Linked DNA regions of Homo sapiens: regions 1, 2, 3, 5 and 6 are each linked to region 4. Evidence: promoter capture Hi-C in 16 types of primary human blood cells and fetal thymus (Javierre and others, 2016). All regions are on one chromosome and are shown on one strand. Each heading gives the region's core, a stretch centred on a gene start or on the middle of the fragment in contact. The rest is flanking DNA. Distances are from core to core; before and after follow the strand shown. Region 1 overlaps WDFY1 (WD repeat and FYVE domain containing 1). Region 2 overlaps WDFY1 (WD repeat and FYVE domain containing 1). Region 3 holds the start of CUL3 (cullin 3). Region 4 holds the start of ACSL3 (acyl-CoA synthetase long chain family member 3). Region 5 overlaps WDFY1 (WD repeat and FYVE domain containing 1). Region 6 holds the start of MRPL44 (mitochondrial ribosomal protein L44).

Region 1 (5,097 bases), core at 1,662-4,161, 1.1 Mb after region 4:
CCCTCCCTGATACCACTATAGGAATTAACTTACAATAAATCAAAGATCTAAATGTAAAGCTAAACTATAAAACTCTCAGAAGAAAATACAGGTGTAAATCTTGATTTACACCTATCTTTACAGATATAAATGACCTTGGATTAGGCAATAGTTTCTTAGATATGGTATCTAAAGCTTAAGTAGCCAAAAACAAAAAAGATAAATTGGACTTCACCAAACTTAAAAAAAAAAAAAAAGTAAAAAGGCAGCTCTTAGGAGAAGATATTTGCAGATCATATATCTGATAAGGGTCTAGTATCTAACATACAGAAAAAAACTCTTACAACTCAACAATTAAAAAATACTCTATTAAAAATGGGCAAAGGACTTCAATAGATATTTCTCCAAAGAAGATATAAATGACCAACAAGTACCTAAGAAGATCCTCAACATCACTAGTCATTAGGAAAACGCGAATCAAAACCACAATCTGGTACCATTTCACACCCCCCAGGATGACCATAACAAAAACAAAGCAAAACAAAACAAGCAGAAAATAACAAGTGTTAGCAAGGATTTGGAGAGCCGGAAACCTTGCGTGTTGCTGGTGAGAATGTAAATGGTGCAGCCACTATGGAAAACAGTTTCATAGTTGCTTACAAGTTCAATATAGTCACCATATGACCCAGCAATTCCACTCCTAGGTATACATACCCAAGAGAATAGAAAAAAATATGTCCATGCAAAAACATGTACATGAATTTTCATAGCAACGTTATTGATAATAGCCAAAAAGTGAAAACAACCCAAATGTCTATCAACTAATAAACGGATCAACCAAATGCAGTATAGAATGCTATTCCACTGCAAAAATAATTAATTAATTCAAACAGGCATGAACCTTGAAAACATTATGTTAAGTGAAAGACAGACATAAAAGGCCACACATATTGTATGAGTCTATTTATATAAAGTGTCTAAAATAGGCAAATCCTTGGATTCAGTAAATTAGTGATTTCCAGGAGCTGGGGGAAGGGGCAATGGAGAGTGACTGCTAATGGGTATGGGATTTTTTTGCAGGGAGGGGTGATGAAAATATTCTGGAATTAGAGAATGGTGGTAATGGTTGCACAATCTTATGAATATGCTACAAGACCACACAATTATATACTTTAAAATGGTAAATATAATTATGTTATTTAAGTTATATTTCAATTAAGAAAAAACAAATGTATGCATACAATTTGACGCACAAAAATGCCAGTCTATAACAGACTAGAAACTTGAATATCAGGTCCTTTGCCAAAGATAGTTTGAGAAGTATTGCCTTAAAGAGTTCTGTGAGTTGCTAGCTGAATGACCACACACACACACACACACACACACACACACACACACACACACACACACAGAGTGACAGAGGCTCTCCACCATCACGGCTAAGGGATGGGGGCTGCTATAGGTGACGTATTCACTCTATGAAGGCTATGATCTGTGGGTCAGCCCGAGCACCCAGCTATCAATTACGACAGCATTCTGAGCTCCAAGGAACTAGTTTAAAATTAAGCAATAATTTAATCCATTTTTGACCTAATATCTATACTGAATTAAACTTTTTTTTTTTTTTTGAGACATGGTTTCCCTCTGCTGCCCAGGCGAAAGTGCAGTGGTGCAATCTCAGCTAGCTGTCAGCCTTGACCTCCTGGGCTCAAGCCATCCTCCCACCTCAGTCTCCTAAGCAGCTGGGACCACAGGCATGCACCACTACCAATTAATTTTTTTGATTTTTCGTTGAGATGAGGTCTCACTATGTTACCCAGGCTGGTCTCAAACTCCTGGGCTCAAGCGATCCGCCCGCCTCAGCCTCCTAAAGTGCTGGGATTACAGATGTGAGCCACTGTGCTTGGCCTAAATTAAACATTTTTCATGCCAAACAATCGAGCATCCATTGTTAATCCAAAGTTAACTGGCCAATATGGGACATGGGAGGTCAATATAAAGAATATAATATAAAGAATACAATAAATACATTCTAAAAGCTACCTACCATTACAGCTCCATTATCCTGGCCCACAAATATCCGTCTGCTGTCATGATGGTAAGCCATAGCAGAGCAAGGAGCTGCCAGAAAGACAAAGACCACATTACCAGCAAAGCTAAGCACTTTAAGTTGTTCTTCAAAGTGATTAAGAACTATATGATAAGAACTATATAATTTAGGTTCACAGAAAGAGGGTAAAAACGTTTTATACAAATTACGTAAATTGAAAATGTTATTAAAGTTCTCTCTGTTGTCTTAGTTTAAAACCTTGATTTCACAAATCTTCTCAGTTGTTTCTATAATGCTGGGTGAAGTGAGCCAGCATGAAGCTTCATCTGACTGAAAGTACTACCTGTAGTCTGGCAAGCCTTGGGGACCAGTGCTTGTAGTGTGTGACCTGCTGCCCAAAAGCTCAGGAGGTCATCCCGCCCCTGCCACCCTTCCCATCAAATGTCAAAGAGTAGCTGTGCAAAGATGGGTTCCCAGCACCAGAATTCCCATTCTATGGCATAAGTGAGCATATGTGAGGTGCAGATATATGGCATATGTGAGTTGTGAAGTGCAGACAGGTTTCCTTGTCCTCCTTCCATGTTCTACCCTACCCTCTTCCAGAAATCACAGGCTAGAGAATGAGTTTCAGAAAGGAGAAATTCTAAATTGTCTTTTACCAAAAATTAGAATTAAAGTGATTTATAAATTGGAACATTTGGAAAAAAAATGTGGGTTTGTTTCAGCCTAAGGAATTTTAATTAGCAATGGAAGAACCAAAACAAGGAAATGCATGCTAGGGAAAAACAAAACAAAACAAACAAATTTGAATTCACTTTGGAATAAAACTTCTCATAAAAGACGGGTGGGTAGGGTGGCTCATGCCTGTAATCTCAGCACTTTGGGAGGCCAAGGCAGGAGGATTGCTTGAGGCCAGGAGTTGAGATCAGCCTGGACAACACAGTGAAACTCCATCTCAAAAAAAAAAAAAAAAAAAGATAAAAGAAAAAACGTCTTTTAAATGAAGTCACCATTTGAATATAAAGTTCTCTCTCTCTAGTAGGGTGATATCCTCACCAAAGGAAGGAAGTAAACTATAATACTGGATCGTACCCCAAAGCAAAAACATAGCTAACTGCATGATCAGACCATAGAGACTGTTTCAGTTGCATCCAAGAACTATGTAGTTGGCTCTGAAAGGTACGTACTGAAATTGTGCACAAAACAATTAGAATTGACTATGAGCCTGTATACCCTTATCTGACACAGTGATGTTTGAGATTAAAAGAACGATCAAGTATTATGACCACAAAGATATATATACATATCTTTATACAATCAAAATGTTCTTTAATAAACCATGCATACACTTATCTTTGACAAATCAAATCATGCTTTGATGCGTTCAGAGATTCACTGTCATCATTTTTGCTTGCTTTCTAGCTGGCACTAAATGCATTAGTTTTAAGCTTCTTTTCAATTTTTTTAATGCCCAACCCTATAACAAACAACATAAATATGTAAAATCCCTCTTTTGTGTAAAAATTACAAAGTGCTGGGTAATTTTATGAAGCTAGACAACTATAACATTTCAAAAAGAAAAAAAAGGCTTCCTTAGTTTGTTTTGTATTATATAGTAATATCCTGGCTCTCTCCCTAGAAAGGAGGTTTCTAACTGAGATAAGCAATATAAATTTAATGTAGAAGGGGAGGGGTTGGATATAAAGCAAAATAGGAATCATCTTTCAAATCAGTTAGCTTTTTTTTTTTTTTTTTTTTTTTGAGATGGTGTCTTGCTGTCACCCAGGCTGGAGTGCAGTGGCGCAATCTCAGCTCACTGCAACCTCCGCCACTTGGGTTCAAGCGATTCTCCTGTCTCAGCCTCCTGAGTAGCTAGGATTACAGGCAGCCACCACCACACCAGGCTAATTCTTGTATTTTTAGTATAGACAGGGTTTCACCATGTTGGCCAGGCCAGTCTCGAACTCCTGACCTCAAATGATCAGCCTGCCTCGGCTTCCCAAAGTGCTGGGAATACAGGCATGAGCCACCATGCCCAGCCAAGTCAATGAACTTTTAAAAAGCCATCACTGCAGTCCAAAATCAAATGTTTAAAACTTTGGATCACACCAGAAGGCCAAATTCAGCTGACTGCATGTTTTGTTAATAAATAGTTTTTTTTTCCTTTGGAACATAAACCCTTTCATTTATGATTGCTTGCATGCTACATTTATATATAACTTATGATTGCTCACATGCAATATTTATGTCTTGTTTATGACTCCTTGCATGATAGGAAGGCAGAATTGAGTAAGTGCCACAGAGATTGGCCCACATAGTCCAAATGTTTACTGTCTGGCCCTTTGCATAAAAAGTTTGTAGACCTACCCATCACTGTGGTGAGAAGCATAGGTTTGGAGTCATAGATGAGCATGGATTGGAATTCCAATGACAAGCAATCAACCCTTCTAACCTCAGCTTGCTTATTCACAAAATGGTAAAAATATTATCTGCCTTGCATAGCTGTTGTGATGGTTTCATAAAATTATATTACCAAAAAAAGGCATGAAGTACACAGTAAAGATAGAAGCCAAGAGTTACCATTTTTCTTCAGCTAAAGCAGATTCTGAAAGTTTTTTTTTTATGTGAGGTAATGTTATAGAACACAATTGGACTGCATATAGCAATATACTAAGGCTTGGCTTATTGATCACTCTGTCAAGTCACAGGAAAAAGTTTAAATTGGTGGATATAACCACTAAGACATCCTAAATTGGATAATCTGCGGATAGCTTTTAGAACTAACATGGCATCCTTCTTTTTGTATCCTAAATTTAATTTTGAAATAAAAAGTCATTCTAAAACAGACATGCAGTTATTTCTCACAATGCATTCACTCTGTTTTCTTCTTGTGGTGTATCTGCAGTTTTATCAGCAGATACAGGTCCAAATAGAAGCAATAAAGAAGCATCTAGAAGTAACACACTGAACATGTGCAGATACAAACATGTAGGTGTCGACCACCCACTGCGAAGCTGTGTCTGTTCTTTCAAGTTCCTCCTTCTTGAGCTAGAAGCTCCTTCAGGAGG
Region 2 (4,578 bases), core at 277-2,776, 1.1 Mb after region 4:
GCTTAATACTCTTTGGAGTGCTGACCGTATCTAGCTTTGTCATATGCAGTTTGATTACAGTGAACTAGGTGGCTATCTGTGAATGACCCCAGGTAAATATATCCCAGAAGGTGACAAAAAAAAAGAGGATAAAATGTAAGCAGTATTTTTTTTTTTTTTTTGAGACAGGGTTTTGGTCTGTCACCCAGGCTGGAGTGCAGTGGCACGATCTCAGCTCACCTCAACCTCCGCCTACCGGGCTCAAGTGATCCTCCCGTCTCAGTCTCCCAAGTAGCTAGGATTACAGGTGCACACTACCATGCCTGGCTAATTTCTGTATTCAGTATTCTTTCTTGGTGGTTGTACATAGGCAAGCACAGTGACAAATAACCCTCCTTTCTTGTAGAGCCGTGGTTCTAAGTGTGGTCCCTGGACTAGCAGCATCAGCATCAACGTCACCTGGAAACTTGGCAGAAATGCCAACTCTCAGGCCCCACCTGACTTTCCAAATCAGAAACTCTGGGGGTGGGGTCCAGCAACCCGAATTTCAACAAGACCCCCAGGTGATTCTGATGCACATTCAAGTTAAGGAACCAGTGTTCTAGAGAGGCCAGATAAGTACATGAAGCCCGGACTGGGGTTTCTCAATATCAGCACTATTGACATTTGGGGCTCAATAATCCTTTGGTGTGGGGCATAACAGGATACTGAGATGCATCCCTACCCTCTACCTAGATGCCAGTATTAGTTACATACAGTATTAGTCCGTTTTCACACTGCTGATAAACACATGCCAGAAACTAGGTAATTATAAACAAAATGAGATTCAATGGACTCACAGTTCCATGTGGCTAGGGAAGCCTCACAATCATGGTGGAAGGCAGAAGACATGTCTTACATGGTAGCAGACAAGAGAGAAATAGGAACCAAGCCAAAGGGGTTTTCCCTTGTAAAACCATCAGATCTCCTGAGACTTACTCACTGCCACGAGAACAGTATGGGGGAAACTGCCCTCATGATTCAATTATTTCCCACTGGGTCCCTCCCACAACACATGGGAATTATGGGAGCTACAATTCAAGATAAGATTTGGGTGGGGACACAGCCAAACCATATCACCTCCCCCACATCATGACAACCAAAAATGTCTCCAGATATTACCAAATGTTCCCTGGGTGGGAAAACCACCCCTGGCCCAGAACCACTGGCCTAGATTTTACAAAAGTGGATACTAACTTCAGGAAAACCTTCATACCTTTCACTTTTCTTCTCAAAATGCTCTCAGCTAGTTCTCACTGCTTTTAGCGTTTGTAAAATGAATTCACTTCAGCTGGACCCTACTTTAAATGTAAAAAGCTACTGGCTCATGCCTGTAATCCCAGTACTTTGGGAGGCCGAGGCGGGTGGATCACGAGGTTTGGAGTTCAAGACCAGCCTGGCCAAGACGGTGAAACCCTGTCTCTACTAAAAATACAAAAGTTAGCTGGGTGTGGTGGCGGGTGCCTGTAATCCCAGCTACTCGGGAGGCTGAAGCAGGAGAATCGCTTGAACCTGGGAGGCAGAGGTTGCAGTGAGCCAAGATCATGCCACTGTGATGCATGCAGTAAATAAAGATTACAAACAGTCTCATTTGTTCAGGCCAAATTTTAGCACCAAACGAGTTTTCAGGTCCAATTTACACACACACATACACACTTCTGACGTTTAGAATGCACTAAATTTTGGAACTGCTGATAAGAGAAGGTGACTGTACCTACCTTATAGGGAGGAAGTGTGAGGATTGGATCCAATAACACATAAGGTCCAATTCTGTACTCGTAGAGAAAAGGGACTTTCAACAGGTTAGCTATTGTTATTTCTAAATTACAAATTCCGATCATATCATTTGCTTGTTTTGAACTCTTTGATGGTTCTACACTGCCTGCAAAATAAGGTCCAAATTCCTTATTTCTTTCTTTTTTTTTTTTTTGAGACAAAGTTTTGTTCTTGTTGCCCAGGCTGGAGTGCAGTGGCGTGATCTCAGCTCACTGCAACCTCCGCCTCCCAGGTTCAAGTGATTCTCCTGTCTCAGCCTCCCAAGTAGCTGGGACCACAGGTGTGTGCCACCATGCCCAGCTAATTTTTGTGGGTTTTTTTGTTTTTGTTTTTTGAGACAGAGTTTCACTCTTGTTGCACAGGCTGGAGGGCAATGGCATGATCTCGGCTCACTTCAACCTCTGCTTCCTGGGTTCAAGTGATTCTCCTGCCTCAGCCTCCCAAGTAGCTGGGATTACAGGCATGTGCCACCACGCCCAGCTAATTTTGTATTTTTAGTAGAGATGGGGTTTCTCCATGTTGGTCAGGCTGGTCTCAAACTCCTGACCTCAGGTGATCCACCCGCCTCGGCCTCCCAAAGTGCTGGAATTACAAGTGTGAGCCACTGCACCCAGCCAATTTTTGTATTTATAGTAGAGATGGGGTTTCACCATGTTGGCCAGGCTGTTCTTGAACTCCTAACCTCAGGTGATCTGCCTGCCTTGGCCTCCCAAAGTGCTGGGATTACAGTCGTGAGCCACCGCACTTGGCCCCCAAAAACTTTTTTTTTTTAATTTAAAAAACAAAACAAAACCGGACACTGGGTCCTTCTAGCTCTCAGTCTTCTCTGTTGCTATTGTCACTGCCCACCTTTTGCTCTGGTCACTTAGAAATAGCTATGGTTCTTTCCCTCTTACAATTCCCTCCTGTCCTTTCCTCCTTCCTCTGCCTGGGATGAGGGTGCATCCCTCCTTCCTTTCTAGATGCCACTCCTCTATCCATGAAGACCAGCTCAACGACCTTCTCTAGGAGGCTGTCCCCAAACCCCGGCCCCAGCCCAAAGAGCCTCCTCTTCCTGTGTCTTCCCAGCACTGGATGCTGAATACATAGGGGCCATCTCTTCACTAGACTGTTCAGCCCTTGGGAAAGAGCAACTTAGCTGTCAGCTGTCTCTCCCCCACAGGTCTAGCATGGGCCCCACACACGTGCTGGGATTACAGGCGTGAGCCACCTTGCCTGGCCAAGGTAGTGTGGCTTTTGACCCCTGTTGTGTCCTCAGGGCCTGACACTCAATAAAAAAGCTTTTTCTAAATGAATGAGTAAATGAGTGAAGAACGTGACACGTATTTATGACAATGTGAAAACAAACCACCATGGCTAACACCAAGAAAAAACCCACGCCCATGTGCTTTCATTACATCTCATGAAGTGTAGCACCTACTAAAAAGGTTGTTCTCCCTTCAAGGAAGTTGCAAGAGCCTGAACACAACAGAAACCTCAAACGCCAACCCCATCCTGGTCCAGTCATCTACCTGGGCTCTGCAATAACAGTGGTGCACGAGTGAAAAAGTGAGCAGATGCAAGCTCCCCCAGAACGTTTCAGTCCCAGAGCAGCTTAGTAATCACTTTCCAAAAACATTTATCAGCACTGCTCCTGACCAGCAATCTCAAATATTTAGCAACTTACCCAAAACGCATGATTCATGAATAAAATATTTGACCGAATAAAGGCTGCTAACTTTTTTTTTTTTTTGATACGGAGTCTGGCTCTATCGCCCAGGCTGGAGTGCAGTGGCACAATCTTGGCTCACTGCAAGCTCTGCCTCCCAGGTTCACGCCATTCTCCTGCCTCAGCTTCCCGAGTAGCTGGGACTACAGGCGCCTGCCACCACACCTGGCTAATTTTTGAATTTTTAGTAGAGACTGGGTTTCGCCGTGTTAGCCAGGATGGTCTCGACCTCCTGACCTTGTTATCCACCCGCCTCGGCCTCCCAAAGTGCTGGGATTACAGGCATGAGCCACTGCGCCTGGCCAAAGGCTAACTTTTTTTTTTTTTTTTTTTGAGACGGAGTCTCGCTCTGTCGCCCAGGCCGGACTGCGGACTGCAGTGGCGCAATCTCGGCTCACTGCAAGCTCCGCTTCCCGGGTTCACGCCATTCTCCTGCCTCAGCCTCCCCAGTAGCTGGGACTACAGGCGCCCGCCACCGCGCCCGGCTAATTTTTTGTATTTTTAGTAGAGACGGGGTTTCACCTTGTTAGCCAGGATGGTCTCGATCTCCTGACCTCATGATCCACCCGCCTCGGCCTCCCAAAGTGCTGGGATTACAGGCGTGAGCCACCGCGCCCGGCCCAAAGGCTAACTTTTAAAGAGTGTTGTCTGCATCTACGTTCACATCATGCAAGAGTCATTATTCTGGCCGGACACCAGTGGATCATGCTTGTAATCCCAACACTTCGGGAGGCCAAGGCGGGTGGATCACGAGGTCAGGAGATCGAGACCATCCTGACCAACATGGTGAAACCCTGTCTCTACTAAAAATAGAAAAATTAGCTGGGCGTGGTGGCAGGCGCCTATAGTCCCAGCTACTCAGGAGGTTGAGGCAGGAGAATCGCTTGAACCTGGGAGGCGGAGGTTGCAGTGAGCCAAGATGATGCCACTGCACTCCATCCAGCCTGGGTGACAGAGCAAGCCTCCATCTTAAAAAAAAAAAAAAAAAGTCATTATTCTGTCCTTGCCTTTTTCAGGTCCCCACCTTCTCCCCAGGTCTCATGCACTCGATCTCTCTCACTCCTTTCTGCTTTACA
Region 3 (4,546 bases), core at 1,814-4,313, 1.7 Mb after region 4:
CTCCGAGTGGCGAGGCAATCCTGCACAAGAGTTTGTAAAGTGCTTAGGAAGCTTGTAGGATGAAAGACGCTATAAATACACCCAATGTTACTAGTTTATGACCACGGAGCATTCCGTGGAACCACTGTCACTGCGTCGGGGGCAGGTTGATGGCATAGACCTTCCTGGGGAGGGGGGCAGAGAGAGAGGGCAGCCCCTTCATCACCCTAAAAGCTAGGCTGGGTAAATTTTCAAAGTGTAGCGAAACCCCACGTGAAAAGTTCCACACACGCCCCACACAGGGAGGACTCCGCGGCTGCTAGCAGCGCCGGAGACTGGGCCTACAACCCCGGCAACGTGGGGAGGCGTGGGGCGGCCGAGGGGCCCCGGCCGCAGCCGACGCCCGCGGAGCGGCTGAAGGAGCAGCTCCCGGACGGGGGCGCGGCGCCAGGCCCGGGCTCCCGGCGCGGGGAACGGCCCGGGAGGGCGGCCGCGCCGGGGCCCCGCGCCGCCCGGTTGCCGGGAAGGCTCGCGCCCCGCGGCCGGCGGGCGTGGGGGAGGGGAGGCCGGGCCTGCGGCCTGTTGGGGGACTTCAGCCCGGGCCTCGCGTGCGGCTCTCGGCCCGGCCCCCGGCCCCGGGGTCCCGGACGCCGAGGAGAGACTCACCGGAAAGGCCCGGATCCGCATCTTGGTGTCCTTCCGGCTGCCCGTGCCTTTGCTCAGATTCGACATGGTGCTCGTCCCCTCCCCGGCGGCGGCTTCAGGTCGCGCTCCGCGACGCCGGTGTCACATTTAAGGCGGGCAGGCAGGCTAGGGGCGACGCTGGGGGCGGCGGCGGCGCGACCCCCGGGCAGGGCTGGGGAGCTGGCCGGCCCCTGGGCAGCCGCGGCGGCGGCGGGGGCGGCGGCGGCGGCGGCGGCGGCTCGGACTCTGGCGACTCCGATGCGGCTGGGGGGCTGCGCTGGCGCGGCGGCTCCGCGGGGTCCCCCTCACGTCCGGCTCGGCTCCCTTTATCGCGCTCCTCCGCGATGGCGGCGGCGGCGGCGACGGACAAACATCTCACTGCGCAGGCCGAACGTCGTCCTCCTCCTCCTCCTTCTCCTCCTCCGCCTGAGCGAGACGAGATCCGGCCCAGAGGGTGGAGGGGGGAGGAGGGAGGGAGGAGAGCCGGAGAGTGAGAGATGCCGGGGGAGGGAGGTGGGAGGACGGGAGGGGGAGCCCGGCGGCCGCCGCGGGGGACGCTCAGATCTCGCGAGAAGAGGGCGAGCGCGCTGCCCCCCTGGTGGGCGGGGCGAAGCCCGGGAGAGGGTGGGCGCCACCGGAGGGGAGGAGGGGAACAGGGAACTGAAGGAAGTGGGAGGGGCCGGCGGGGCGGGGAAGCGGAAAGGGGGCGTGGCTGAGGGCGGGAGGATTAAGCTGCCTTTTTGAAAGTGGAGCGCCAGGTCCCGGGTTCTGGGTGGAGGTGGTTGCTGATTGGTGGAGCTCGGAGCGGCGGTTGGGAGGGTCCTGGTCACATGGTGGGGAGTGGGAGGGGGGAAGTTCGGAGAGCGGGAGCGGGATGGTAGTGGGCTGGGCCCCACTGGGCTGGGACAGCAGGAGGATAGTCTTGAGGAGGAGCGTGGGGTGCTAGATGTGTAACTACGTCCCGAACTGGTTCCTGTGTTTTTCTAGGGCATGTGGACTAGGGATGGGTACTTGAGTAGAAGCCTGCAACTTGAAGAGTTTGTGCAGGAGTTAGCTGCAGTGTCGGAAATTAGTGTCCTGTATGCTCAACAAGGTATTCGGACTGGGTGTGCACACCACAGCTCTCAGGACTGGAAGGTGGAAATTTAATCTACGAAGTTCCCTTAAACTGCATAAGCTTCGGGACCTCTTGATTCACTGATATTTTCTGGTGGACCCAGGGCTTATTCATGTTAAAACCTGTTTTTCATTACCATCAGAATAAACTGACAGCTCCATTAATGAAATGCAGCATTTGGTAAATAATGTTAAGTGGAATGATAGAAACCTATCTTTAACCTACCGGATAAATCATTTCTACCATTACCAAGAGTATTGTAGATTTTTAAAGCCAAAATTACCGTCTGATTCAGTTGCTGTATATTTGAAAAGGTTTTGGCTTTTGGTTTTGGAGGAGAGGCGTTTGGTCGCTTTATAGTCAAAATGTCTAATTTGACTTATCGGTTTTGCTGTCCATTTGTTATGAATTGTACTTCCTCATTTACCTACTTGCCCAATTGCTGTTATGTTTGGGTTTCTGACTCTGCAAGGGAATACGTGAGTTCTTATTAAAGTTTGTGTTCTTCCTATTTTAAAGAAGCATATGTTTGGGGGATGGATATCTACATTTAGAAGCTGGAATTTTAATACTTTTAAATAGCAAACAATATAAAGTGAAATACACTTATTTGTTGACTGTAAGGTTGAATTTGCCCTAAATTAACTTAATCCTGATGACTAAGCTTATGAGTGTTGTGCTTAAAGCCCCTTCTTGCTTAAAACGCCCCACTGCAAATACCATATTTTCTTGTTTTTTTTTTTTTTTTGTGGGAGTTTTTTGGTATTGGCTAATTAAAGCAGGAGCTTAAGAAACAAGAATGTTGCTTAAGACAATATCTGTAAATACTGAAGCTAAAAATAGGTTATCAAGAACTGAGTTGATAAACTAAGATTGGGAGAGGCTCTGACTTCAATGTAAGATAATGTCAGCCTTGAATAGGAGTTTATAATCTCTATGCTAATTGAACCTCCATTTCCATAACATAATATAATAACAAACAATGTTTTTCTCTTGGTTGTACTCTCATATGGCCCAGTTTCTTTGTAATGTAAGAATATATGTTCAGAATAGGGATCTCTGAGGAACCAAAAAAAGAAATAAAAAAATATTTTAAAAAAGAATATGTGTTCTTGGAGCCATTGTTTGAATCTCAATTCTGCCACTTTACTAGCTGTGTTTTGCATCTTTTGGGGCATGGAGTTGACAATCCCCAGAATTTCTCATCTGTAAAAGGGAGACAATAACAATACTTCCTCCTTGGGCTACCGTGAAATTTAAATAGATGAATACGTTTTAAAGAGCCCTGAGAACTGGGCATGGAGCAGCAACTTACCACCTGTTGGCTGTTATTAACATGGGCATTAAAGCCAAGGTTATACTACTTCCTTTATTCAATAGGTAGGTTTCTAAACAACAACAACAAAAAACACTTGTATGCTTTTATAAAATGAGTCATATTTTGAAACTAAGCCAGTCTCCGACATTTGGATCTCTCAGACTAATAAAATATTTTCTGATAAGCTAGGGAGTCATTATAGATTTGGCAACTTTATATTGGCAAGGGTATTAAAAAGGAACAACTAGCATAGATTATTCCCATCATTTATTAAAAAGTATTTTAACCTCAGAAATGAGGGAAGATCCATTTTTGAATAAAGGACAGTTCCTTGAATTGAACAGCCTCGTAATGAACAATACGTCACACGAATTTTTCTTATTTCACTGTGAACCTAAGGAGACATCATGGGCCAGCATTTAGAAACCCACTACATTAAGGTATGTTTCTACTTAATTGTAAAGCATATAGTAAGTATAGTAACTGTAATGTATTTGCTTTGTGAACCCAGATTTTCGTATATTGGTGTTGCTTAACCAAAATTTAGCTGCGTCTAAAAGCATCACTGTGAACTGTGTCTTCCCTTAAGCTTTTAACCACCAAGGATCAGAAAAATGCTTCAAAATGATTTTGTCATTAAGAAGTCTGCTCATTTATTTGTTCAGTTATTCATTTATTCAATAATTATTATTGAATGGCTACTGTATGTCAGGAACTAGGGTGAATGAGACAGATGGGACCTGCCATCACATCCTTTTTCACATCTCACAGTTTGTAAACCACAGACCCATATTGGATTTGGCCCCAACTTTGTATATGCTTCAGTTCTGAAATCAGATATTTTCCTTCCTGTGGAAGCAACATCCTCAGAATGTCTATGAAATACTTTCTGAAGCAGCAGTAGATTATTTTTCTGTGCCCAGTCATATTCCCTGACTTGCAAATAGCAAATAAACTTTCAGGATGTTGCTTTTCTGCAAACTGCCACCTGATCTAGCAGAGAAAGCAGCACTGGAATAGGAACTCACTAGATCTTGCATGGCTGGCGATTGGTATTCCTACTCATGCTGACAGTGTCCTGACACAGGAAAACAGTGGCCTCATTTCCATTTATTCTTTCCATTTATGCATATGGAGCACATGCATTCAGAGAGATCAGGCAGTTGGGTGGGCCAGCCCCTTTTCTACATCCCAGTCTGTGAAAGAGCAATATAAGATGTGAGGAGCTGGTAAAAGGAAGTAATAGCCTCTTCTTGACCATCAGTTTCTAGGTACTCGGGATACCAAGTCACTTTAATCAATGTTTCAGATCTGCTGATTTTATTGTACAGATATTGGTTGTTAAAACAGCTCAAAGCCTACAATTTCAATTTGAAAGACCCGTTCAATGGTTTTGAGTAGACCAAGACTATGTTAAGAGAGAGAAAATGTTTTTAAGTTGGAAGGCA
Region 4 (4,584 bases), core at 706-3,205:
GCACGCTTTATAGTATGAACATAACTTTTTTTTTTTTTTTGAGATGCAGTTCACTCTTGTTGCCCAGGCTGGAGTGCAATGGCACGATCTCGGCTCACTGCAACCTTCGCCTCCCAGGTTCAAGCGATCTCCTGTCTCAGCCTCCCGAGTAGTTGGGATTACAGGCGCATGCCACCACGCCTGGCTAATTTTTGTATTTTTAGTAGAGACAGGGTTTCATCATATTGGTCAGGCTGGTCTCGAACTCCTGACCTCAGGTGATCCGCCTGCCTTGGCTTCCTAAAGTGCTGGGATTACAGGCGTGAGCCACCGCTCCCGGCGAACATAACTTTTATATTTACTGGGAAACCAAACAATTCATGTGACTCACTTAATTTTGATATTCCCTTTAAGTGTCAGTGGTCTGGAACCAAACCCACAATGTCTCTGAAGTATCTCTATGTATTTCTACTTAGCTTGTTAAACAGCAAACAAGATGAGAATTTAGAATTTTAATTCCCAGGACCATTTTCTTTTAAATATAGGTCCATATCCATAATATATATTCCATAATATAAAGATAATGAAGAAAGATATTGTTGGAATTCTTCTAGTCTGTTTTAGGCTTATGGATAGATAAAAAGGTGCAATATTAGTTTTCTTCTCTCGGAAAAAAACCAGTATTTTCCAGAGGATTTCATGGTTCTAGAAGTACTACTTCTAAAGCCTGCTTCTCTCTGCAGAGCTGCGAATGTCTTTTCAGATAAGAAATTCTGCATTCCATTTATCTTCAGGATGTATCCTTTGATAAGATTTCAACAGATTAATGAGCAACTGAACTGCCATATTTTGAAGTGGGAGAACAGTTTGCCTGAGTCAGGTATCCATCCCTTTAGGTTCTCGATTGGCCCTTGGCCCACGGTGAGTGAGCTCTCTTTGCTTGGTGCATCATCGCTCCACCTAGTTCAAGTTCTGGCGGCTTCCTGATTTTGATTCTCTTGGGAAATGAGGCCTGCTTTAGCCTGAGGCTGGCTCAGGAAGGCAACCTTTCACCTACTTAAGGAAAAGTTCACAGGCAAACTAAACAATATGTTGGGTTAAAAAAAGAGACCAATCCTACTAGTACTGGGTGAGTGAAAATCTTCTCTCTTACAGTACATGTAGTTCTACTACCTGCACTGGATGCTTTCTTTCTTATCCTTGTTTAGTGTCTAAAACGAGAAACAATGGCAAACTCCTTAAAATACAGAACCACTGTGGATTCCTAAGAACGTTCAAAAACAATAATTTGGAGTAAACTTTATTTTTTGAAAAGAAATAGCAAATTTGCATGGTGAGTGCATTTAGAGGAAAACGGGTTATATGCTAGGTCAAGTGAGGCCAAAACAAGAGAAATGATAATGGATAAGCTTTGAGTTTTTGAGGCTCTTCTTGCCCCAGGCAGTTCCAAAAGCCATTTTATTTGGCAGGATTTGACAGCAATTTCTGCAAGAACGGGATAACTAATCCAGTTAAAAACGAAAAAGAATATGCATACTATTTCATAATTTATATTGAAATTTATACATTACAGCAATAATTGTGCGACTGTAATTTTTTTTTTTTTTTTTTTGGTGGAGGGGTGTTTTTTCCTGGAGGGACGGAGCTCCTGCAGACCCTATTGGGCTAGCCGCTCCTCCCACGTCGCTGCCGCAGATCCCCGCTCCCCTCCCCCACCCGCGGTCCGTCCCTCCTGGTCGACCCCGTTCCCGCCCCCGCCCCGCGCAGACTGCAGCCAGGTCCGGTCCGCGGCGGCTCCGCGGAATGACCCGTAGTAACCTCGCCCCGCCCCGGGCCGCCAGCGCCGCGCTCCCCGGCCCGAATTCGATAGGCCCAGCCCCGCACGCGCCACCGCTCGCGGGCCAATGGGTGGCAGCCTCTCTGCATAGGCAACGAGTGCCGGCCGGGGGTGAGCGTCCCAGGCGGTTCCGCTCAACAGACGCTGCTGTGGCTGCGCCGGGCTGCGACACTGCAGTTGTCTACGCGGCCGGGGCCGGGACGAGGAGGCGTTGGACGGGGTCGCATACGTTCGTCCCCTCGCATTGCGGCCCCGACAGCTGCGCCAGGATCCCCGGGCGGCGGCGCGGGGCGTGAACGCTCTGGGGCTCAGCCAGGCCTGCGCGGGCCCGAGGCCGGAGGAACCCGGACTCCGGCGTAGCGGTGAGTGCGGCGCCGGTTGTGGGAGCGGCGGGAGCCGGTTGGCGGCGCGGCCTCCGCGTGCGGTTCGGCTGGGCCCGAGGGGCTCCCCAGCCTCGGGGCCTGGGACCCTGTCGTCGGCGCCGCACCTGACCGCTGGGTGTGCGCGCGGGCGGCCCGCGGCACCAGGAGCAGCGGCGAGCAGGGTGGGAGGCGGCCCGCTGGGGTCCGGGAAGCGGCTGACGTGGGGCCTCGGCCCTGAGCCCACGCGAGCCGGGAGCTGCAGCGCGAACGGCGTGGGGCGGCGCTGACCAGGCAGGGAGGATGCACTGCGTGCCTCCCGGCGCTGTGGGGCGGGGTGGGGAGGCCACCCCCTTGAATTAAGAGGGCTCTGCCGCGGCCCCAGCAGTGCGGTGTCCGTGGAAGGAGACTCAGCCCTGCGATTTCGGAAAACCCTTGTTTGGCGGGGCGGGAGGGGCTGTTGCTGCGTGGGGTGAGAAGAAACTAGGTGCGTGAGGTGGGTCGACCTTGGTGATTGGTTCTGGGCACTATCGTGGTGGTGGGACTGGGATTAAGACTGTCGTTTGGGGTTTGAGAGTTGCAGCTTTGCTTTTCCCCAAGTGCGTTTTAATCATATACTGTTGATAGGTTGGGTAACTCGGGGACTGCTTACTACCAGCAGTCCTGTGGGGTAGGTGTTATCAGGCTCGTTTCACAGATGAGGAGCCCGAGGCACAGGTTTTCAAATGGTTTTCGCAGGAAGTCTGATACTAGAAAGTGTGCTCTAAGCTGCTGTATAAAAGATCCCTCGAAAATGAAAAGGCTGGAGGAATGTCTTTAAAATTATATGGAAGCTAGAAAGGCAGTAGGCTTTGTGAACGAAATTATAGCTGAAAAGAATGACAAATAGCTGACATTTATTGAGCTTTTATTACATGCCACGCACTGTTTGGAGAGCTTTATGTACAGTGTCTTCACACTGTTAACAGTCCTCTGGGGTGGGGGTTATTCCCATTTTACAGCGGGAGAAACTGCAGATTGGACGACTTAGCTTGCCTCAGATCTCAGCTAGTAAGAAGCTGGGATTCAGACAGGCCTGTGTAAATCCAGAGCTCTGAAATCTAAGCACTATATTTTGCTGCCTCTCCTTGGTGGCTGGCTGAATAGTTTCCACAGTGGATTTTAGTCTGGGTGGCCAGGAGAGTTGTAGTTTGATGATACCTTCTTTCATGTTTATCAACCTATTTTGTTTCCCCAAATTAGTTCTGAGAGTTAAGGGTGCTGATGAGTTGCTCCTGAAAGTGTATTAGAAGGGTATTATAGGGGACAGGTGGTGTGACATGGGAATCTTTTGCACAGACTTGATTTTGTTTTCTGGCATTTTTCTGGGCAGTTCCTCACACTTGGGGATGAGTAAGCCTTCTAATTGTCGCATGCGTTTTCTCTCTAGACTTTTCCTGGTTTCTCTTTTGTATAAAAATATTGGTTTTGTAGGATGACATTGGGTGTGGGGCAGAGTGGTCCATTGGACCTAAGGGTCAAGGTGACAAGTCACCTCGTATCTTTGGATCTCAGTTACTGAATTTGTAAGGCTTTAGACTCAGTGACTTAAAGCTTAAATATTCTGAGGGTCTAAAATGTTCTCCTTGAAGGAAGAAAGGAAGAATGGGAGAAATGAAGAACGCACAAATTATAAGGGGAAAATCATCCTCTGTCTGGTTTGGGGTGAGAATCAGATCTTAAAGCCTCGAGGTCTGTTTCATTTGCTTTTGTGTTTCCCTGCTGTTTGGTTCCAGTTAAGTGACTGTTTCATTCCTCATTTGATTAATTGACTCACCTAGAGCCATTTAATTTTTGTGATATGTCAGGCACCTTATTAGGTGCTGGGAATACAGCTGTGAATAGAGGGAAAAATAGACAAGAAGCAAATGGTCATACAAACGGATAGGTGGTTGCAAGTTTGATAGGTACGATGAAGGAAAAGTATTGTGTGAATGAGGATTATGAGCAAGATTGTGATGTAGATGGAAATCTAGTCTAGGGAGCTGTTTTTTGAATTGATGTGGTGAGATTTTGCTAGAGGACAGTCTTGAAATCTGAGCCTGCAATTATGTACATAATGCAAGAGTTTGGGAAGTTGTCAGCAACAATAATTCTTTTCATTGCACAGTGTATTTCATACTCAGAATGTCATCCCGGCTCTCATTGCAAGATACGAAAATGAGATAGGCAACTTTACAAGTTGTCATTCTGTCTGCCTTCAGGGTACTTAAAGCTTAAATAGTCCTCTAATACTTTCTCCCACTCAAAATGAACTGTAAGGGGGAGTAAGACTCTTTTATGTGAGATTTGGGCTTGAATATTGGATTTAGATTTTTTTTAGGAAAGCTAGGCCAAGGGTGATAGGCTTTTAAAACAACGAGCATCATA
Region 5 (5,137 bases), core at 1,738-4,237, 1.0 Mb after region 4:
TGCTGGGATTACAGGCGTGAGCCACTGTGCCCAGCTGTACATTTTCATCAAAGTGATTGTCTTCATAAGGGGCTGGCATTTGAATTATGTTTCAATTACCCAGAGCATTCCTTTAACACAAAAGGCCTCTATCTCCAGCAATGTCTGTTAAGCAGTACATCAATGGATTTCCTAATATTTTAATGTTTTCAAGTGATTCAATTTCAAGCAAGGATTTTAAAAATAAATACAGATAAGCCATTTTTAAATTCTCAATTTTTTTTTTTTTTTTTTGAGACAGAGCCTTGCTTTGTTGCCCAGGCTGGAGTGCGTTGGCATGATCTCGGCTCACTGCAACCTCTGCCTCCCGGGTTCAAGCAATTCTCCTGCCTCAGTCTCCTGAGTAGCTGGGATTACAGGTGCCCACCACCACACCCAGCTATTTTTTTGTATTTTTAGTAGAGATGGGGTTTCACCATGTTGGTTAGGCTGGTCTCAAACTCCTGACCTCAAGTGATCTGCCCGCCTCAGCCTCCCAAAGTGCTGGGATTACAGGCGTGAGTCACCGTGCCTGGCCTAAATTCTCAACTCTTTTTTTTTTTTTTTTTTTTGAGATGGAGCCTCGCTCTGTCACCCAGGCTGGAATGCAATGGCGTGATCTTGGCTCACTGCAACCTCCGCCTCCTGGGTTCAAGTGATTCTCCTGCCTCAGCCTCCCAAGTAGCTGAGATTACAGGTGTCTGCCACCATGCCTGGCTATTTTTTGTATTTTTAGTAGGGTTGGGATTTCACCATGTTGGCCAGGCTGGTCTCGAACTCCTGACCTCAGGGGATTCACCTGTCTCAGCCTCCTAAAATGCTGGGATTACAGGCATGAATCACGGTGTCTGGCCTCTCAATTCATTTCTAATAGTCATAGCAAGTGGTTCATAGCAAGTGGTTCGTAGCAAGTCGTCACAAAGTCTAGGAGTCAGATCTCTTGCCTTCCAATCCTGGCTCTGCCACTTGTCAGCAGTGTCCTCAGGCACGTGACTCAACTTCTCTGTGCCTAGGTTTCCTTATCCACTGTTATGGTCTGGCTCTGTGTCCCTACCCACATCTCACTTAGAATTGTAATAATCCCCATGTGTCATGGGAGGGACCCAGTAGGATGTAATTGAATCATGGGGGTGGGTTTTTCCCATGCTATTCTCCTGGTAGTGAGTAAGTCTCACAATATCTGATGGTTTTACAAAGGGGAGTTCCCCTGCACATGCCCTCTTGCCTTCCATGTAAGACATGACTTTGCTCCTCCTTCACCTTCCACCATGATTGTGACGCCTCCCCAGCCATGTGGAATTGTAAGTCCATTAAACCTCTTTCCTTTATAAATTACCCAGTCTCAGGCATATCTTTATTAGCAGCCTGAGAATGGACTAATACATCTGTAAAATGGGATAACAGTAGTATATACCTCATAAGGTTGTGAGGATTAAGTGAGTTAATATTTGGGAAGTGTTCAGAATACTACGTGGCATACAATAAGTGACATCTAAGTCCAGGCAATGTGCCAAGTGTTTCATGTTTTTTTATTCTACTTAATTTTCATTATGTCCTAGGAGATACCGAGCAACACTATCCCTATTTTACAGGCAAAGAAACTGGCTCAGAGATTAAAGCAACTGTCAATGAGTACACGCAGATCCTGGGCAGATCCAGGAGTCCAGCCTGCCTCTCTCTGTGTATCCCTATGCTCCACACAGCCTCTGTATATGAGGCCTATCCACTTCTACCTATGGGGGTCTCCAAACATGGTCCTGGGCTAGGGCAACCTACAGATCTGAGCTCTTGCCTCAGGGAGCATGATTCTGTTTACAGGTTTAAGAAAGAATATTACTTTGGCTGGGCGCAGTTGCTCACATCTGTAATCCCAGCACTTTGGGAGGCTGAGGCAGGTGGATCACTTGAGGCCAGGAGTTCGAGACCAGCCTGGCCAACATGGTGAAACCCTGTCTCTACTAGAAATACAGATATTAGCCAGGCATGGTGGCACATGTCTGCAGTCCCAGCTACTCAGGTGACCGAGGCACGAGAATCGCTTGAGCCCAGGAGGCAGAGGTTGCAGTGACAAAAATATATGCTTAAAAAAATTTGAGATAACAAATTAAAATCAAAATCAGAAACAAATAGCTTTTTAGAACATATTTTAATATAAGAGATACCCCTAACTTTATTTCACTTAATACTCAGAATATAGCATTACACTGTAAGCTAACATGAGCCATCCTTATACTTATTATCTAAGAAGAAGCTTTCGTTTTGTGCTGAGAAGAGCAAGAGAGAGTATTAATCAGTTATTATAATTGCTTCACTCTCTTTTCTCCATCTTTTTGCACCTGCCAAATCTGAACAAAGATATGGCAAGAATAAATTCCATTGCTCTACTGCCACTAACTGCTGCACTCGTCACACTGCACTAGTATATAAAATGCTATACATTCTGTAACCTACTAGTTTTAAAATAAAGTTCTCTTTTCAAGAAGATTCATTCTAATTATTGTTACTTCCTCATTTATATTTTGTGCCTACTTCCAAAAAAGGATCCCTTCTCATTATGATCTGGCAGGGAAGCAAATCTGCTTCCAACTCGACAGCGTAGTGGTTGAAGCCACAGTGGGTAGTAAATGCTCCAGTTAGTATTGACAGGGGACTTGGAGAGAAATTCCAGGCAAGCATTGCAGAGCTAGAGGATCTGGGATCAATCCTCTATGCCCTGGTCTAAGAAAGTCCTATAAAACCCTAAAGGCCAGGCACGGTGGCTCATGCCTGTAATCCCAGCACTTTGGGAAGCTGAGGCGGGCGGATCACTTGAGGTCAGGGGCTCGTGACCAGCCTGGTCAACATGGTGAAACCCTGTCTCTACTAAAAATATAAAATATTAGCCAGGTACAGGTATGGTGGCATAAGCCTGTCACCCCAGATACCTGGGAGGCTGAGGTGGGAGAATCACTTGAAACTAGGATGCGAAGGTTGCAGTGAGCCGAGATCGCACCACTGCACTCCAGCCTGAGTGACAGAGCTAGACTCCGTCTCAAAAAAAAAAAAAGCCCAAAAATCCTAAGGCAGGGTCAGAACCTTATAGATTATAGCCTGTTTATCCTTGCAATACATTTTCTCAGTTATTAAAAAACAAACAAACAAAAAAACCCACTAAAAATAATGCATCTTTTTGACACAATTTGCCTTCCTGTCTCTTCTACAGACGCAGTGAATTGTGCACACAGGAAATGCCTTGATTGATGGGACTATTTTTTCTTTCCCTAGATAGAGAAATACACTCCACAGTGATGCACTTTGACGGTAGGAATCCCACTTCTACTTTCTAAGTACTTTTTCTAAAAGAATTTACCAACGATAAAAAGAGCAGGTTAAAATCTAAGTTGTGAAACCCTCGGGAAAGCCACCAGCAGTGCTGGGCACCAACAGTCTCCTCCCCTCATCATCCAGGGAATACAGCCTTTCTCTGAGTTTTCCGCTCTCTCAGAATAAGACTGAAAAATAATAGGCCAAGAGCCAAGAACAGTTTACTAGCTTTTCTTGCTGCATATAACTAGTAGCTGATAAACGTAAAACACAGTTCGAATAAATCTTTGCAAATATAGTATTATGCATCCTATAATTTATATATATATATACATATTTTTTAGATGGAGTTTTGCTCGTCGCCCAGGTTGGAGCGCAGTGGTGCAAGCTTGGCTCACTGCAACCTCTGCCTCCTGGGTTCAAGTGATTCTCCTGCCTCAGCCTCCCAAGTAGCTGGGATTATAGGCACCTGCCACCATGCCTGGCTAATTTTTATATTTTTTAGTAGAGACTGGGTTTCACCATGTTGGCCAGGCTGGACTCCAACTCCTGACCTCAGGTGATCCACCCACCTCAGCCTCCCAAAGCGCTGGGATTACAGGCATGAGCCACTGCGCTGGCCACATCCTATACTATTGAGCCAATGTATCTGTGTTTAATAATAAAATATTCTAAGCCTTACCAAATAATTTTTAGAAAATTCAAAAAGAGAAATTAACCAGCAGACATGTAATCCAAATTTCCTCTATCTGACTTGTCTTACAAAGTTACCAAAAAATCTCACAATCAGTACGTCTCTGTATTATGGATTGCATTTTATTATTTATAGGGTAGTCTATTTCTTCCACTAGATTACACATTTCTTGTGGGCAAGTATCTTTGTGTACAGTAGCCATAAAGTCTGGAAATGAGTAATGTCACCATTTAAAAAAAAAATAGATGAAAGCCCCTTGATCACTTCTACTGGAATATGCTAAAAATGAAGGTTTAATCAGTGAGAATCAGACTCACAAAGAATCAGAGACAACACAAAGCAGACACATGTGCAGGGACTGGTGGGAATTCTGCATCAACGCATAATGTCTATTACAATGGTGCACAGCACACTGAACAACATATTGCCATAAAGGACAGGATACTGAACAGATCATGTGATGTCATGCAACACAGTAGGTACTGCAATGCAATATCAATAAGCCATTTATTAAATACATTCACTTGAGTTTCCCGACTGTAAGGACACCCTGTAGGTGCCCAACAAATATTTCTGAAGTTAAACTATAAGTCATTAACATCCCTCATGATCTAAAATCTTCTCTGGAATCAACTTTTTTGCTAACAACATCGTAAGTTGTAGATGTCACTTAGAAAAGAAAGATAATGACAGTACAGGCAGAGATGAGAATGGAAACCTTGATTGGAAATCATTTGACGACATCTATAAAAAGCCTTAAGAATGTATATATCCTTGGACCCAGAAGGTCTATTTCCAGAAATTTGTCTGAAATAAATAATTGATCAATCACACAATGACAAGGTCAAGAATATTCACTGCAGCATTCTTCAAAATATTTAAAAAAGAGAATGTACACAGTGCCTCATGCCTATAATCCCAGCAATTTGGGAGACTGAGGCAGGAGGATTGCTTGAGCCCAGGAGTTTGAGACCAGCCTAGACGATACAGCAAGACCCTGTCTCTACCAAAAAAAAAAAAAAAAAATTGAAAAATAAGCTGTGCATGGTAGTGTATGCCTGTAGCCCCAGCTACTCAGGAAGCTGAAGTGGGAGGATCGCTTAAGCCTGGGAGGTTGAGGCT
Region 6 (4,864 bases), core at 2,180-4,679, 1.1 Mb after region 4:
TGACATCTTCTCTGATATTTCCTGAACTTGTTTCTCAAAAGTATCCTTAATGACAGGAAAGGGGATCTATACCTACAGGGGTTAAAGGGTCAGGCAGCTTTCACTTTTTGGAGCGGAATTTACTAAGTCATCATCATTCCTGACGACTTTGTGCATGTTATGGAATGTTGATCCTCCTTTCCATCTCTTCTGCATCTAGCAAAATCCACGCTTCCATCTAGAACCAGCACTCTGAGGCCATCCCCTAAGTCTCATGAATATAGAGCATTTTTTATTTTGCCATTTTCATCCAATTGATTTGACCCTATGTGTATTAATTATCTGTTGCTATGTAACAAATTACTCCAGAACTTAGTGGCATAAAGCAACAAACGTTTATTTTCTCATACATTTCCTGAGGGCCAGGAGTTTGGGAGCAGTTTAGCTGGGTGATTCTGGCTGAGGGTCTCTCATGAGGATGCAGTCAAAGCGCTGGCCAGTAGGCAGTCATCTGAAAGTCTGACTGGGAGTGGAGGATCCAATTCTAAGACAGCTCATTCATTCACATGGCTGTTAGCGGGAGGCCTCAGCTACTCATCACATAAGCCTTTCCACATAGTTTCTTAGGCAACATCATAACATAGCAGCTGACTTCCTGACAGGAGACTAATCCAAGAAATACAAGGTATCTGACCAAAATGGAAGCTATGATGTATTTTATTACCTAACCCCAGAATTGATAAAAACATCCATGGTCTATTGGTTACACAGACTAATCCCAGCACAATGTGAGAGGGGAATGTACAAGGGTGTAAGTACCAGGAGGTGGGGCTTGTTGAGAGCCATCTTGCTGGCCGCTAACACACCAAAAAAGTTTTGCTTCCATAATTATGAATTAAAGTGTTTATAACAGAATTATACTAACATTGATGCATTTTTTTTGAGAAAATGTTTTCTGGAATAAGCTCCATGAAACCAATTAAATTTCTTGATCAATTTTCTATACAGCACAAGTATCCTATTTCTAATTGTATTTTCATGTTTCTATTGCTTAATGTATTTTCATGAATTTTTTTCCACATTTATTTCCTAAGATGTTATTTGTTGCTCAGGTTTACTAAGGCTTTTTGCTAATCAGTTTTACTATCATGAGTTTTCTGTTGCAGCTTTTAGATCTATCAAGTCAAATTTTCCATCAAGTCAAATTTTCCAAAGCTAGGTTGAACAGATGTAACTTTGGTGAAGACTGATTCTATATCGATATTTATCAGTAACTCCAATTTTGTATTTTGAACAGTTTTAACTATAGTAATTTTCATTCTATGGTAATTATTTCTGTCTGTAATTTTCCTTGTGAGTTGGATTAAAGGCCACTATTTGGTAGTTATTCCTTAGCTAATCTATGAAGTAGTGGTGAGTAATCCCAGGTGGTTCAGAATTGCTTGATTGTTCAGGAAGGTCCTATAGCAGAGCTTACTAACTTTGTTATCCATCTTTCTGTGCCCCGTATTCCAGCTGCCTTCACCATCATTGAAGGAATATATAAGCAATATCCCTGGCATCAAAACACAAAAGGTTGTGTTCCCCAAGGGTTAAAGTGAACCCTCAATCGCCTCACCTCCTCTTCCTAAGTGTGACTTTTCCCCACCCTTCCACCTGACCTTAACCCAATGAAAACTCGAAAGTTGTTGACATCTGTGAGCTTTGATCAAATTAGGGCTAACAGCAGGTTAAAGGAAAAATCAGGTTTTTGAGGGCTGAAAAACACATTGGCCTTTTTCTTCCTTAAAGTTTTCTGAGCCTGGATCCTGGAACCAAGTCCTCCTCCTATTATGTGTTTATTGAATAAATAGACAAATGTATGAGCAGATTTTAAAAAACTGGTTAATTCCTAAGTTCCATGAAGGGCATTAGTAGAAGAAATCTTTTGAGGACCTACATTTTTTTAATCTGCAAATGATGCTCTCGTTGTTGTATGACTGAGAAACTCTCAACACAGAGACACCTCATTTTAACTTAACATGATTGTGCTACAACTGGCTTAGATTATTTTTCCTAATAAATGAAATTCTACAGAAATGACAGTTCCCTGCATTTTCTCCTAATCCATTTATTGGATTGATGTTCCATGAATTTTCAATACTTTACATACATTGAAACAAGAAGGTCAATCGTAACCTCCTTTCACCCCTTCTTGGAGAATTTCCTTCAACCAGAAATCCATCAGTTTGTTTTTTGGTGTGTGCTCAGCCCCTCTTTTGCTCTCTCCCTCCCCAAAGGGAACCCTTTTATAAGCTGAGATGAACCATTTAGATTCTCCCTTTTGAAATGGTCAAGCTGAGAAACCCAAATTGAGTTCTATGATCCTGGCACTGAAGATTCTCGGGCTAAGTCATAACATGCTTTGTGGTCTGTGTTTCAGAGAGATGAATGTAGGTGAGCTGTGTCTGGGGAAGGGAGGAAGGTACCAGGCCAATTACACTAACCACGGAAAGAGGTGAGGAGAGCCACCAGGTACCTGCAGTGGAAATAAATGGAAAAAGCACTTGGTGGAAACTGCACCGAAGAGGGGGTTTGTCGAAACAAAAACAATCAAAGACATAGGAGTTCAATCTGGGTGACTGCTGGGGACACAGATGCCTTTAACAAAGAGATCACAGAAAGCATTGCCCCTTTGAGGGTCTAGATGTTCAGCAGGCAACTCAAAACTGGGAATTCAAACAAGCCTCCCTTTGTGACTTAATATGTTCTTTTAAAAATTGTACTGTATTAACAGTTTGGTAGGAAAGCAATAGAATTACATTGTTAAAGAGTGTTAACATAAAGAAGGAAGAAACTGTAATTCCCCTATTACCGTTTTATGTTTTTTTCCAGTCATTTTCCGGATGTTTAAAAATATGTACTATTAGATTGCTTTTAAAGAAAAATTTTAATTTTGGATAAGCCAACATTTCTGAGTCTAGGGTTTCCAAAACTAAGGCTTTTGGAGGCGTGCTGGGTCAAAAATAGAAGCTCGGTAAATACTTGCTCAGTAGTGGCCTAGAACACTAAATATAAATTAAAAATGTTTTCTTTTTTTGAGGATTTAAATGTTTCCTTAACCTGAAAGCGAAACAGATTTTTGTTTGTTTTGCTGTAACGAGAGAGGAAGGAACAAGAGAGTGACAGGGTGAAGCAACTTCTCCCAGAAACTTTTGGGCGCAAACGCCCTCAAGTCCGGATCATTGGAAAGTAACTCGAAGAGAGGAGAGAACTAGCGCAAGCGTAGCCTCAAGGCGGCCGCAATCACCCCGCCCCGGGGCTGTCTCCGCCCCTGCCCTCTCTCAGTCGCCCCGCCCCGGGGGCTGTCTCCGCCCCAGCCTTCTCTTCGCGTTCCGCGTTCCGGGTTCCGGGGGAAGTGTGTTACGGGGACACTGGCCCGACTACTTTCGTTCCGTCTTCCATCGTTTTCTCTCGTGCAATGGCGTCCGGGCTGGTAAGATTGCTGCAGCAGGGACATCGCTGCCTCCTGGCTCCAGTCGCCCCCAAGCTGGTCCCTCCGGTTCGGGGAGTGAAGAAGGGATTCCGCGCCGCCTTCCGCTTCCAGAAGGAGTTAGAGCGGCAGCGCCTTCTGCGGTGCCCGCCGCCGCCCGTGCGCCGGTAGGAGCCACCTCGGGAAGAGGTCTCAGGGTGGCGGTCGCAGACACTGGGTCTTCTTCCCGCGGCGTCGTGTCTGCGGCTGATGCGCCCCTGGGTTAAGCCTTAGGAAGTTTGCGATGGAGACACCCGTGAGCTGTGGGCGCGGGGCCTGAGGCAAAAAAAATGGATTTGTGCCGCGGGCGGTAGAGCTTCGGGCTGTTCCCGACGTTTTGAAACTACCATTTAGGATTTTGGCTACTGAAAATTGGGAGAAATGGGGCTAACTGGAGGGTCTTCCTTATGTGGACTTGGATGTTGTAGTCCCCGTTTGTAATGCCTGAGAATTCCGATAAGCGGGAAGAAAGCAGCCCACAGCATCGTAAATTAAGGAGAAAAAAAATTAATCTACAACCTGAATTCTGCTGTCTAGAGTAAAAGGAAAAAAAGTTAGCTTTAGATTTTTGCCCTAATTAATGCTGTTCTGGTAACAGGTTTGGCAGAGAGAGACACAGGTTTTTATAGCTTCAAACCAGATCATACTTTACATAATTTAAATTCCTTCATCTTGCTTTTTCTCTTTAATAATGTGTGTTTGACATGTTGTCATGGTATTACAAAGATATGTACCTCACTCTTTTTTATGGCTCTGTATATATGGGCCTATGAGCTCCATATTATTGCCATTAAAACCTATGTAACAGCGCGTAAAGGGGACGCATGTGTAGTATGAAATTTTGAAAGCTATTAGTACTTTAACATTGCCCTCCAAAAAATGTTGATCCACTTTGTACTCCTACCAGTAGGAACGGTCTTCTAACAGAGAAGATTATAGCAAAAAATAAAATCTCTTCTTAATTCCCATTCCCTTGTTTATTATAAGATTAAGTATTTTAGGCTCTCAAAGGTGGAAGAAACTTTATGGGTTGGACAGATTATATAGGTGTATATGTTATATGTATATCTTACGACTTTCAACCTAGGTTTTCATACTTTGCTTCCCTTTGTTTCTTAAAGGGGTTTTATATTGTGTTACGTATAAGTAATCCAGAGATGACTTAAAGTATACAGGAGGATGTGCATAGGTTATATGCAGATACAGGTATACCTCATACATATTGTAGGGTTGGTTCTAGACCACGACAATAAAACGAGTCACATGACTTTTTTAGTTTCCCAGTGTATACCTAAGTTATGTTTATACTATTCTGTAGTTTATTAAGTGTACAGTAGTAGTGTCTAAAAAGCAATATATGTACCTTAATTTAAA

What was found. The method cuts DNA at HindIII sites, captures the fragments that hold promoters and counts their contacts. A CHiCAGO score of 5 or more calls a contact.
Region 1: a contact is called between a fragment that was not itself captured here and the fragment with the promoter of ACSL3 in region 4, in 1 of 17 cell types (M0 macrophages). The highest score is 5.1, in M0 macrophages.
Region 2: a fragment that was not itself captured here is called in contact with the fragment with the promoter of ACSL3 in region 4 in 1 of 17 cell types (M0 macrophages); the score reaches 5.1 in M0 macrophages.
Region 3: a contact is called between a fragment that was not itself captured here and the fragment with the promoter of ACSL3 in region 4, in 1 of 17 cell types (fetal thymus). The highest score is 5.3, in fetal thymus.
Region 5: a fragment that was not itself captured here is called in contact with the fragment with the promoter of ACSL3 in region 4 in 1 of 17 cell types (M0 macrophages); the score reaches 7.1 in M0 macrophages.
Region 6: the fragment with the promoter of MRPL44 here is called in contact with the fragment with the promoter of ACSL3 in region 4 in 4 of 17 cell types (naive CD8 T cells, naive CD4 T cells, fetal thymus and 1 more); the score reaches 7.3 in naive CD8 T cells.

The regions. Positions count from the first base shown.
Region 1 is chr2:223,910,227-223,915,323 of GRCh38, forward strand. WDFY1 (WD repeat and FYVE domain containing 1) reads right to left here. Exons shown (of 12, transcript NM_020830.5): 3 at 2,027-2,100. Among named protein-coding and RNA genes, the nearest start is that of WDFY1, 33 kb to the right of the region's middle. The HindIII fragment of the contact is 1,128 bases long and covers 2,348-3,475 here.
Region 2 is chr2:223,938,712-223,943,289 of GRCh38, forward strand. The region is part of intron 1 of WDFY1 (WD repeat and FYVE domain containing 1); the gene reads right to left. LOC124907989 (a long non-coding RNA gene) reads left to right here and starts at 4,513. Exons shown (of 2, transcript XR_007088100.1): 1 at 4,513-4,578. The HindIII fragment of the contact is 3,092 bases long and covers 1-3,072 here.
Region 3 is chr2:224,584,299-224,588,844 of GRCh38, forward strand. It overlaps CUL3 (cullin 3), which reads right to left and starts at 1,065. Exons shown (of 16, transcript NM_003590.5): 1 at 646-1,065. The coding sequence starts at 711. RefSeq lists silencers at 529-788, 1,119-1,538. The HindIII fragment of the contact is 1,243 bases long and covers 2,443-3,685 here.
Region 4 is chr2:222,859,081-222,863,664 of GRCh38, forward strand. It overlaps ACSL3 (acyl-CoA synthetase long chain family member 3), which reads left to right and starts at 1,956. Exons shown (of 17, transcript NM_004457.5): 1 at 1,956-2,178. RefSeq lists an enhancer at 1,671-1,965 and silencers at 1,682-2,011, 2,082-2,451. The HindIII fragment of the contact is 2,380 bases long and covers 1,387-3,766 here.
Region 5 is chr2:223,888,332-223,893,468 of GRCh38, forward strand. All of the region lies in intron 8 of WDFY1 (WD repeat and FYVE domain containing 1), which reads right to left. Among named protein-coding and RNA genes, the nearest start is that of AP1S3, 53 kb to the left of the region's middle. The HindIII fragment of the contact is 1,440 bases long and covers 2,268-3,707 here.
Region 6 is chr2:223,954,034-223,958,897 of GRCh38, forward strand. It overlaps MRPL44 (mitochondrial ribosomal protein L44), which reads left to right and starts at 3,430. Exons shown (of 4, transcript NM_022915.5): 1 at 3,430-3,618. The coding sequence starts at 3,440. RefSeq lists a silencer at 3,205-3,274 and an enhancer at 3,345-3,514. The HindIII fragment of the contact is 10,687 bases long and covers 1-4,864 here.